2 separate regions of the Homo sapiens genome follow, and region 1 is linked to region 2. Evidence: promoter capture Hi-C in human tissues and cell types (Jung and others, 2019). All regions are on one chromosome and are shown on one strand. Each heading gives the region's core, a stretch centred on a gene start or on the middle of the fragment in contact. The rest is flanking DNA. Distances are from core to core; before and after follow the strand shown.

Region 1 (4,857 bases), core at 1-2,500, 690 kb after region 2:
GGTACACCAGGGCCTCACACATGCTGGCCTCTCTACCTGGCGTGTCACCCTCTTCCCTCCCGCTCACCTCAGGTTTAGCTCAAACCTCGCTTCCTCAGGAGAGCCTTAGCATCACCTCCGCCCCTCCTGCCAGCTCAGATCCCACTGCCTGTGCCTTCACAGCTTCTCTTAACAGTCTGGAGGCTATATTGATGAGATTCTTTGGTTAATCGCTGGCACACCCATGACTGTAATCCTCATAAAGCTAGGAACTGCTTCTATTTTTCTCACACCTCCGTCACAGTACCGGTTGGCGTAGAGCTGCGGTCCCTGAACTCAGGAAGCTCAGTTGCAATAACGGAGAAGACAATTAACAAGCATACAGCAAACTTGTATCAATTGTGAAAGAAACATTACAGGGTGATGGGGTGGCAGAGGTCTTCTTTCCATAGGCCATCACGGATGGCCTCTTTGAGGAAGCAACATTAAAGCTCAGGCCAGAACGCCACTGTGCAACAAACCGGCACAGCACGTGCAAAAACCCAGAGGGGGGAAAAAGCATGTTCCCTCAGAGGAACAGAAAGAGCTTTAGGTCGGCACCAGCCAGACCACGTGGCCCACACAGGTTAAGAAGTCTGGTTTTTGTTTTAGAAGCTACCTGATAAAGCCACTGGAGGGAATGCAGTAGGTGTGGCGCCTATCGTGGGCGCGGCAGACATGATCGAATCTAAATGTCCTTAAAAGAACATTCTGGCACGTGGGTGGAGAACAGAAGCAGGGGCAAGAGGAGAAGGAGGGCAACCGAGTAGGAGGGCCTATAACAGCCCAGGTAAGAGCTGATGGGGGATGGACTAGGAGCAGAGGCGATGAGAAGGGGATGGGCTCACCTGGACGAGCGGGTGTGGACGGAAATGGGTTTGTCCTGGGTGAGAGTGTGGACAGAGGCGGGCTCACCCAAGGGAAGCGTGGACCAAGTTGGGCTCGCCCCGGGAGAGTGAGCAGGCAGAAGGGCGCCGCCTGGGTCCTCGGGACCCCGGAGCCTCAAGACCTGCGGAGCCTGGGGCCACGGGCCACCGGGGCTCACACCCAACCGTGCGGCCGCTCCTGGGGACCCCCGGCCGTCGCCAACCCCCAAACACCTCCCGGCGATGCCTGACCGCCCCCGGTCTCGCGTCCCGGAGCCCCTCACCTGCGTAGCCCAGTGGGCTGGGGATACGGTCCTCCGGGTCCCGCGCGGCGCACTTCCTCCTGCGCGCCACCATCTTGCCACCCGGGAGCGCGGGGGCCGCCGGGAGTTGCGGTTCGGCGCCGGCGCGAGCGCGTTTTCGTGGCGCCTGCCCCGCCCCCTCACTCCAAGCCCGCCTCCCCGGCCCCGCCCGCCATGGCCCAACCTTCATCCGCTCAGAGATAAATCAGCGCGCGAAAGTGGGAGCGAATGTCAGAGTTGACCCCGGCCAGTCACGAGTGCGAACTCAGCTTTCCACTCATGCATTCACACGTTGAATAGGCAGTGTGAGAGAAATCCAGGATGGCTGCTAGGTTTTCAGTCTGAGCAACTAAGAGGATGGTGTTGCCATTGACTGAGATGGGAAGACTGCAGGAGAGGGGCCTGCTTGGGGGTGAAAATGGAGTAGATCAGTTCTCTGTGAGCCGTGGTGAGATGCCCATTAGGCCACTCAGGGGACATGTCAGGTGGGCACTTAGATATGAGACTGAACAGACTGAACATCAGAGATGTCAGGCCTGGAGCAATACACACGGGACTGGCCATGGATAGGTTATTGACAGTTACGAGAGGAGCCGGGTGCGGTGATTCATGCCTGTAATCCCAGCAATTTGGGAGGCCGAGGGGGGCGGATCACTTGAGGTCAGGAGTTCCAGACCAGCCTGGCCAACATGGTGAAACCCCGTGTCTACTAGGTACAAAAAGTAGCCGGGCGTGGTAGTGCATGCCTGTAATTCCAGCTACTCGGGAGGCTGAGGCAGGAGAATCGCTTGAACCCAGGAGGCGGAGATTGCAGTTAGCCAAGATCGCCCCACTGCAATCCAGCCTGGGCAACAGAGCGAGACTCTGTCTCAAAAAAAAAAGAAAGAGAAAAAAAAAGAAAGTTATGAGAGGGTGTGATCGCCAAGGGAGCAAGTGTAGATAGGGGAGAAATGAAGTCCAAGGACTCCACTTTTCTGGACTCCAAAGGGCCTCTCAGACTGTGTACCCGCCAGCCCTTGATGTATCTACTATTTCTCTTTTCCCAGTGTACAGTTGCTTCTTGGAAATGCTGTCGGCCCCTTTGGGGAAAGATTAGGAGCCTACTACTGCAAATATTTGTGGTCTGGAGGGGACCCAGCCTCCCTTTCAGTCAGTGACCTCTGGTTCTGAGGCCTAGCTTAGGCCTGGAAACTGGATGAGGGGTTGGGATTTTCCATCAGCAGCTGCCATTACTGTCCTGTTCGCTCGTTTTTTGTTTTTGATCTTTCTTTGCTTAGCGCAGTCAAGCAGTGTTGGGGCTTCCGTGGCCCCTGGGAATACCGTGGTCTACTAGCATTCACCAGAGACTCCTGTGCGCCCAGGATCCCTGGCAGCCACTCTGGCCTTGCTCCTGTTCTGACAGTCACATCAACCGAACCTCTGCTCTCTGGAATCCTATCTCCTGCTGACCTTTCCGAGCCCGGCTCCAGTCCTATTTGCCCTCTTCTACCCTGGCCTCAGAGGACGGCCATGCCGATTGCCCATTGATGCCTAGACCCCCCACTAGTCAAAGCAGTCTCTGGTGAACCCTCCAGAAATACGGTCATCTGGCTTCTCAGATGTTGCATAATAAATCTGTGCCTGCACATCCCCCTCCCCGAGGCCTTTGGCTCCTTCTCAGTGCCCTGCCACCATCGTTCTGTTATCTCCCTCTCATGTATTGCTTCCACGCTTCAAGGAGCCATCTCGATGGATATCAGGACTGGCCACACAACATCACTTTTTTTTTTTTTTTTTTGAGATGGAGTCTCGCTGTGTCGCCAGGCTGGAGTGCAGTGGCGCGATCTCCGCTCACTGCAACCTCCGCCTCCTGGGTTCAAGCAATTCTCCTGCATCAGCCTCCTGAGTAGCTGGGATTACAGGTGTGCACCACCATGACCAGCTAAATTTCTTATTTTTGATAGACACAGAGCTTCGCCATATTGGCCAGGATAGTCTCGATCTCTTGGCCTTGTGATCCGCCCACCTCGGCTTCCCAAAGTGCTGGGATTACAGGCATAAGCCTTTTTTTTTTTTTTTTTTTTTTTTTTTTGAGACGGAGTCTCACTCTGCTGACACCCAGGCTGGAGTGCAGTGCTGCCATCTCAGCTTACTGCAACCTCCACCTCCCGGGTTCAAGCAATTCTCCTGCCTCAGCCTCCCAAGTAGCTGGGATTACAGGCATGTGCCACCACACCCAGCTACTTTTTTGTATTTTTAGTAGAGACAGGGTTTACCATGTTGGCCAGGCTGGTCTTGATCTCCTGACCTCAGATGATCTGCCCACCTCGGCCTCCCAAAGTGCTGAGATTACAGGTGTGAGCCACTGCACCCAGCCTAGAATTCAAGACTCTTGAGCCCATCTATCCAGACGTTCCCTGCCCTAGGTGACAGTGTCCGCTCCTTCACTTCTGTGCTCCTTGACTGGAGCACAGCACTTAGCACAGCCGTTCATCTGCCCTGATTCAAACTCCACAGTTCTCATCAGGTTCTAGGCCTTTATCAGCACAATGTGACCTGTCTTTAAACACGTCTCTGGAAGCCCCTCCTGATTTTCACCTTGGGCTATAAGTTGATAAATGGCTGTCCTGAGGCCTGTTGTTTTCTTCCTTCAGCCCACTGATGCCACTCGATCAATTAACTCCACTTTCTTTATAATTACCACTGCCCATGTATTTCATGGGTCAGGAATTTGGGCAATGCTCTGCTAGGAGATTTTGTTTCTCCCTGTGGCACTGACTGAGGGCATTTGATGGTATTCAGCTGGCATATGGGCTGCACTAAAGGTTCCAAGTCACTTCACTCACATCGCAGCATCTCAGCAGATGAGTCCGGCATCTCAGCAGGGATGGCTGGTGATAGAGTTTGAGTATTTGTCTCCGCCCAAATCGCATGTTAAATTGTAATCCCCAGTGCTAGAGGTGGGGCCTGGTGGGAAGTGTTTGGATCATGGGGGCCTCATGGCTTGGCGCCGTCTTTGCGTCTTTGCGATCGCGAGTTCTCGCGAGATCTGTTTGTTTAAAAATGGGTGGCTGCTTCACCCCCCACTTTGTTGGTCAGGCTTTCACCATGTGAAGTGACCCCTCACACTTCGCCTTCCACCATGAGTCAAAGCTCCCTGAGGCCTCCCCAGAAGCAGATGCAGCCATGCTTCCCGTACAGCCTGCAGAACCAATTCAACGTCTTGGCTTTATAAATTCCCCAGTCTCAGGTATTTCTTCATAGCAGTGCAAGAATGGCCGAATATGGCTGGGCTCAAGTGGGACTTGTCAACTAGAGCACCCACCCATGGATTTCCTAGCATGTGGTCTCAGTAGTCAACTTTTTTTTTTTTTCCTGCTTGCTGGGAGGAGGAGGAGGGAGAAGCGACGGGCTTCATTAGGAACGGTGAGTTTGCGACTCTGCCGCTAAGTGGCAGCTCCAGCTCACCCCCCCAGCTCCCTCCCACAGGCCACGGCTGGGCATGGAGAACTGGTGACTTCAGAGGCCCGGAGAGAAAAGACGGGGGAGAGCGAGGGGCCGCCGTGCCTGAGGTCTGGGGGTGACAGCAGAGGATGGCCAAGGAGTGCAGGGCCAGGTTGCCCTGCCCTGTCTAAGAGAGTCTTACCGAATATAGAGGTTGAATTGTGCTCCCCAAGAGACATGTTGAAGTA
Region 2 (4,726 bases), core at 949-3,448:
GAGACGCAGTCTCCTGTTGCCCAGGCTGGAGTGCAATGGCGCGATCTCTGCTCACCGTAACTTCTGCCTCCCGGGTTCAAGCAAGTCTCCTGCCTCAGCTTCCTGAGTAGCTGGGATTACAGGCATGCACCATCACGCCTGGCTAATTTTTGTATTTTTAGTAGAGACGGGGTTTCACCAAGCTGGCCAAGCTGGTCTCGAACTCCCGACCTCAGGCAATCCGCCCACCTCAGCCTCCCAAAGTGCTGGGATTACAGGCGTGAGCCACCTTGCCCGGACTCTCTTTGTATTTTTTCTTTCTTTTTTTTGAGACAGAGTCTTGCTCTGTCTCCCAGGCTGGAGTGCAGCGACATGATCTCAGCTCACTGCAGCCTCTATCTCCCAGGTTCCGGCAGTTCTCCTACCGGTTAGCTGGGATTACAGGCATGCGCCACCACACCCGGCTAATTTTTGTATTTTTAGTAGAGACGGGGTTTCACCATGTTGGTCAGGCTGGTCTCCAACTCCTGACCTCAAATGATCTGCACACCTCGGCCTCCTAAAGTGCTGGAATTACCGGTGTGAGCCACCGCGCCTGGCCAGATCCTTATTTTTTCAATTGCAATACAGCAGTATGCAAGGCACTTACTGTATGCCAAAGCTTATGCCGAGAGCTGGCTGCCAGCAGCTCCTCCTGCCTCGAGGCCTTTGTCCATGTCATCATTTCCCCTTTGGCTGTAACAGCTGCAGTTCTCTCATAATTTTAGGTTTCATCTTAAATGTCACTTCTTCAGAGGCTTCTTGACAGCACAAGTCAGGGCCCTTGTTAGTTTCATCACATCCATTACCTTTCCTTGATCACTTGTACCATCATCTGTAATTTATTTTTATGTTTAATACGGGTGTGGGATTTCTGATTTTTTTTTTTGCTAGACTGGAAGCTCTCAGAGGGCAGGAACCATTTGTTTCCCTGCCACAGAGATGTTCAATAAATATTGTCAATTGAATGTGCAAATAATCTCACTTAACCACAGCTATGAGGGATGCTATTTTATCCCCATTTTAGAGATGACTAAACTGAGGCTTAGAACAATTAACCCAAGGTCACAGTGAATTAGTGGATCCATGTGTCTGCCTCCACACAGCCTGTGTGTTCTTAATTATTGATCACTAAGCAACAGCTGCCTCTCACAAACTGGCAGGAAACTTCAACTTTTCCCTTTTATCAATATATTGTGAACGCCTTTTCTTGCTAATAAATATACATTTGTGTGCGTAATTTTTAATGATCCCATGGTATTCCATCGTGTGGATGTAATTTACATATTCATTTCCTTATTCTCACTTCTTCCTAGTTACAGCACTTCTTTAAGCACTTGTAATTTTTATTCCTTTGGATAAATTCCTAGAAGTTTACAACACGACCAGCTGCAAGATGGGGCAGTGAGGTGCTTGAAGGAGTGGGTGGGCTGCACTTCAGAATCCCGGTGGAACTTTTTCAAAAAACTCGTGCCCGGGGCCCCCCTCTCAGGAGGCCGTCGGTGGGCCTGGGCACTGGCGTGGTTTTCAGGTCCTCAGTGGTTCCGAGGTGCCAGAGATTGAGGACCACTGGAGTAAGCGCGAGGTCACGGCGGGTGCAAAGCAGAAGACGTAAAATCCTGACCGCCCTGGGACAATCTGCAACCTTGTCAAGCCTCCGTGCCCGCCTTTGTAAGGAGGCTGGGAGAAGCGGGACTTGGATGACCCGGACTCCCGTCCCGAGCGCTGGGGTCCAGGTTTGACTCCGCTGGCTTTCTCAGGCGGGCAGGGCGGGGGTAGGCAGCTGGGAAGATGACGTAATGTGCTCCCAGCCAGGCCTGGAGGCGGCCAGCGGTCGCAGGTGGAGGGTGGCCTGTTAACCCTTCACTCCCAGGCCAGTGGACGGACTTGCGTGTGGCGCAGATCCAACGGAGAAGGCAGCGGCTCCTTTAAACAAGGCGGAGAAGGTTAAGATGATGACCGGACGGCTACTCCAGGCATTCGCTCCGAGGCCGCGGGGGGAGGGACCTCACTATGCAAATCTGAGCTGCTGATCGATGACGCGCCATCACCCCACGCACCGCTTCGCTCGCCCATTGGCTGAGATGAGCCTGGTCCCATTGACAACAAACAGGGGGGCGCGCGGCCTGGAGGCGGGGCCGCAGGGGGCGCGGGCTGGGGCGGGGGAATCCCGCCCCGCCCTTTCTGTGCGGCGCCCGGGCGCAACGCAAACATGGCGGCGGGTGGCACCCGTCGGTGAGGCGGTGCCGGGCGGGGGTTGTCGGGTGTCATGGGCGGTGGCGACGGCACCGCCCCCGCGTCTCCCTGAGCGGGACGGCAGGGGGGGCTTCTGCGCTGAGCCGGGCGATGGACGACAGCGGCGAGCTGGGTGGTCTGGAGACCATGGAGACCCTCACGGAGCTGGGCGACGAGCTGACCCTGGGAGACATCGACGGTGAGTGGTGGGTGGGTGGGAGTGCGGGGGCCGCGCGGGGAGGAAGGGGTTACGGCGGCGCGCCCGGGTGCGCGTGCGCCCACCCCCCGACAGCCCCGGTTCGCGCGGGAAGAACCCCGTGCGCACGGTGCCCCCGGCGGTCCTCAACCCTTCCGGCGCTGCGAGCGTGAGCCCGACCCAGCTGCGCCGCTCCGGGAGGCCGTGGGATCTGGGGCGCCGCGGGGCCGAAAGCGGCGCGAGGGTCGCGGGTTCCAGAGCGCGGGGCTAGGGACGTCGCGGGGGCGTCTCAGGGAGCGGCCTAAGGAGAGCGCGTGGCCGCCGCCTCCCTCGCGCGCCCACACGCGGTTTCCGTGGTCCGCTCTCCCGCCGCCCGCGACCGCGCGTCGCACCTGTCACTCCCTTCCTGGCCGCGGGGACGTCTTTGGGATTCCCGGGGCCCAGCCCCCAGTCTCCGCGCCCCGAATCCCTGGGCTTCTCAGGATTGACCGACGGCCAGGTCGCCGGGTGCTCCGCGAAACTTTGGGCAGCGACTGCAGAAGCAAGTTGCTGATGAAGAGAGCAGTGGCGGCGGAGTGTGGACACATCTCTCCGGGATGGAGACCCGGGCGCTCCTGCTGTCACGCTGCAAGGGGAATTGAGCAGAAGAAATTTTGAGTTGTGGCCCCTCGGGTACGGGCTGGGGAGCGGGTGGCCTTTGTTCCAGCGCCTTAACAGCGGAGTGGAAGAGCTGGTAGGAGCCCAGGGATCCACTCTTAAAATACTAATTTTGCGACCACGGGAACAACGATTTGGAGAGGGTCAGCGGCTTGCTCAAGGTCACCCAGCTGGTTAGAGCCTAGTTCTTGCAGTTCCTTGGCCAGTATTGGTTTTTTTATACCCCTCCTTTCAAGAAAGAGTCCAGTTGACTAGGCTAGTAATCTTATTAACTGGATAGTTGCACTCTTATGTTTAGGCCCCAAAATGCTTTGTATTATTTCACTTCTTCCTCACAACAATCCTGTGAGATACTCTTATTACCTCTATTTTAATACGGTAATTAAAGAAGCCGAGGCCAGGAGATGTTGACTTATCTAAGGCCACTCACCTTAGAGAGCTTAGGCAGAAACACAGGTGCATTGTACTTTTCAGTTTTCAGAATGCTTTCATGTCCAGGATCTCACTACAGCCTTGCAGGCATGTATGATGGCTACATCCCCGTTGTGCAGATGAAGAAGCAGAAGCAGCAGAAGATTCTCTTTTGGGGGAAGAGATAAATGCAGCAGCTAATTGAAAAGGATCTGTTTGCCATTTTCCCATTTTGCTTTTGTAATATTTCTCCCCTTGGTTTGTCCTTGATTTCCATTTTGGTCATGTGGGCAGTGTGATAAGACCCTTAATTGAAGCCCCAGTTCTAACCACAGACTCTTTGCTAAGTGCTTCTAAATACAGAAATGGGTTAACAAATGGGGGATGGGGTAGGTGGGGGTTGGGAACATAGCAAGGGCAGCTAACATGTTTTGAGAACTTCTGTGCCAGACGGTGTTAAACAGTTATACACGTTAATGTTCTCAATCTTCCTAACAACCCTGTCAGGTAGAGAGAACTGTTATACTTGTCATCTCCCTCTCACTGATCCTGAAAGTGAGGCCCAGGGTGGTTCATTAATTTACTGAAGATTACACAGCCAGTAGAAAGTACTGTATGTCTATAGCTGCCTACCTGCAAGGGCACAGAAAGAAATTCATGTGCATTTTGCATTCCTATTCCATGATCAATTCCTATTTGTCTTATTTTGTTTATCTGATTTTTAAATTTAAATTTTTATTTATTTAGTTATTTTTTGAGACAGGGTCTCATTCTGTCACCCAGGCTGGAATGCAGTGGCACAATCATAGCACAAACTCTTAGGCTCAAATGATCCTCCTGCCTTGGCCTCCCAAAGTGCTAGGATTACAGGTGTGAGCCACCTAAATTTTTTTTTTTTTTTTTTGAGATGGAGTTTCGCTATTGTTGCCCAGGCTGGAGTGCAATGGCGCGATCTCGGCTCACCGCAACCTCCACCTCCCGAGTTCAGGCGATTCTCCTGTCTCAGCCTCCCGAGTAGCTGGGATTACAGGCATGCGCCACCACGCCCGGCTAATTTTGTATTTTTAGTAGAGACAGGGTTTCTCCATGTTGGTCGGGCTGGTCTCCAACTCCCAACCTCAGGTGATCCGCCCACCTTGGCCTCCTAAAGTGCTGAGATTACAGGCATGAGCCACTGTACCTGGCCGAGCCACCGTGCCTGGCCGAGCC

Evidence for each region. Contacts are between HindIII fragments. The study calls those that stand out against the background at their distance.
Region 1: the fragment with the promoter of RRP7A here is called in contact with the fragment with the promoter of SREBF2 in region 2 in 3 of the 25 tissues and cell types used here (dorsolateral prefrontal cortex, lymphoblastoid cells and spleen).

The regions. Positions count from the first base shown.
Region 1 is chr22:42,518,546-42,523,402 of GRCh38, forward strand. It overlaps RRP7A (ribosomal RNA processing 7 homolog A), which reads right to left and starts at 1,251. Exons shown (of 7, transcript NM_015703.5): 1 at 1,169-1,251. The coding sequence starts at 1,241. LOC124900479 (a long non-coding RNA gene) reads left to right here. Exons shown (of 3, transcript XR_007068117.1): 1 at 1-808. RefSeq lists silencers at 1,003-1,132, 1,143-1,312, 1,333-1,392 and enhancers at 1,573-1,632, 2,158-2,452. The HindIII fragment of the contact is 27,172 bases long and covers 1-4,857 here.
Region 2 is chr22:41,830,907-41,835,632 of GRCh38, forward strand. SREBF2 (sterol regulatory element binding transcription factor 2) reads left to right here and starts at 2,199. Exons shown (of 19, transcript NM_004599.4): 1 at 2,199-2,452. The coding sequence starts at 2,365. It overlaps CCDC134 (coiled-coil domain containing 134), which reads left to right. Exons shown (of 7, transcript NM_024821.5): 7 at 1-1,258. SREBF2-AS1 (SREBF2 antisense RNA 1) reads right to left here and starts at 3,759. Exons shown (of 2, transcript NR_157279.2): 1 at 3,537-3,759; 2 at 1-3,074. RefSeq lists enhancers at 1-186, 187-726, 1,553-2,062, 1,668-2,324, 4,115-4,616 and 1 more and silencers at 2,103-2,442, 2,503-2,892. The HindIII fragment of the contact is 7,421 bases long and covers 1-3,395 here.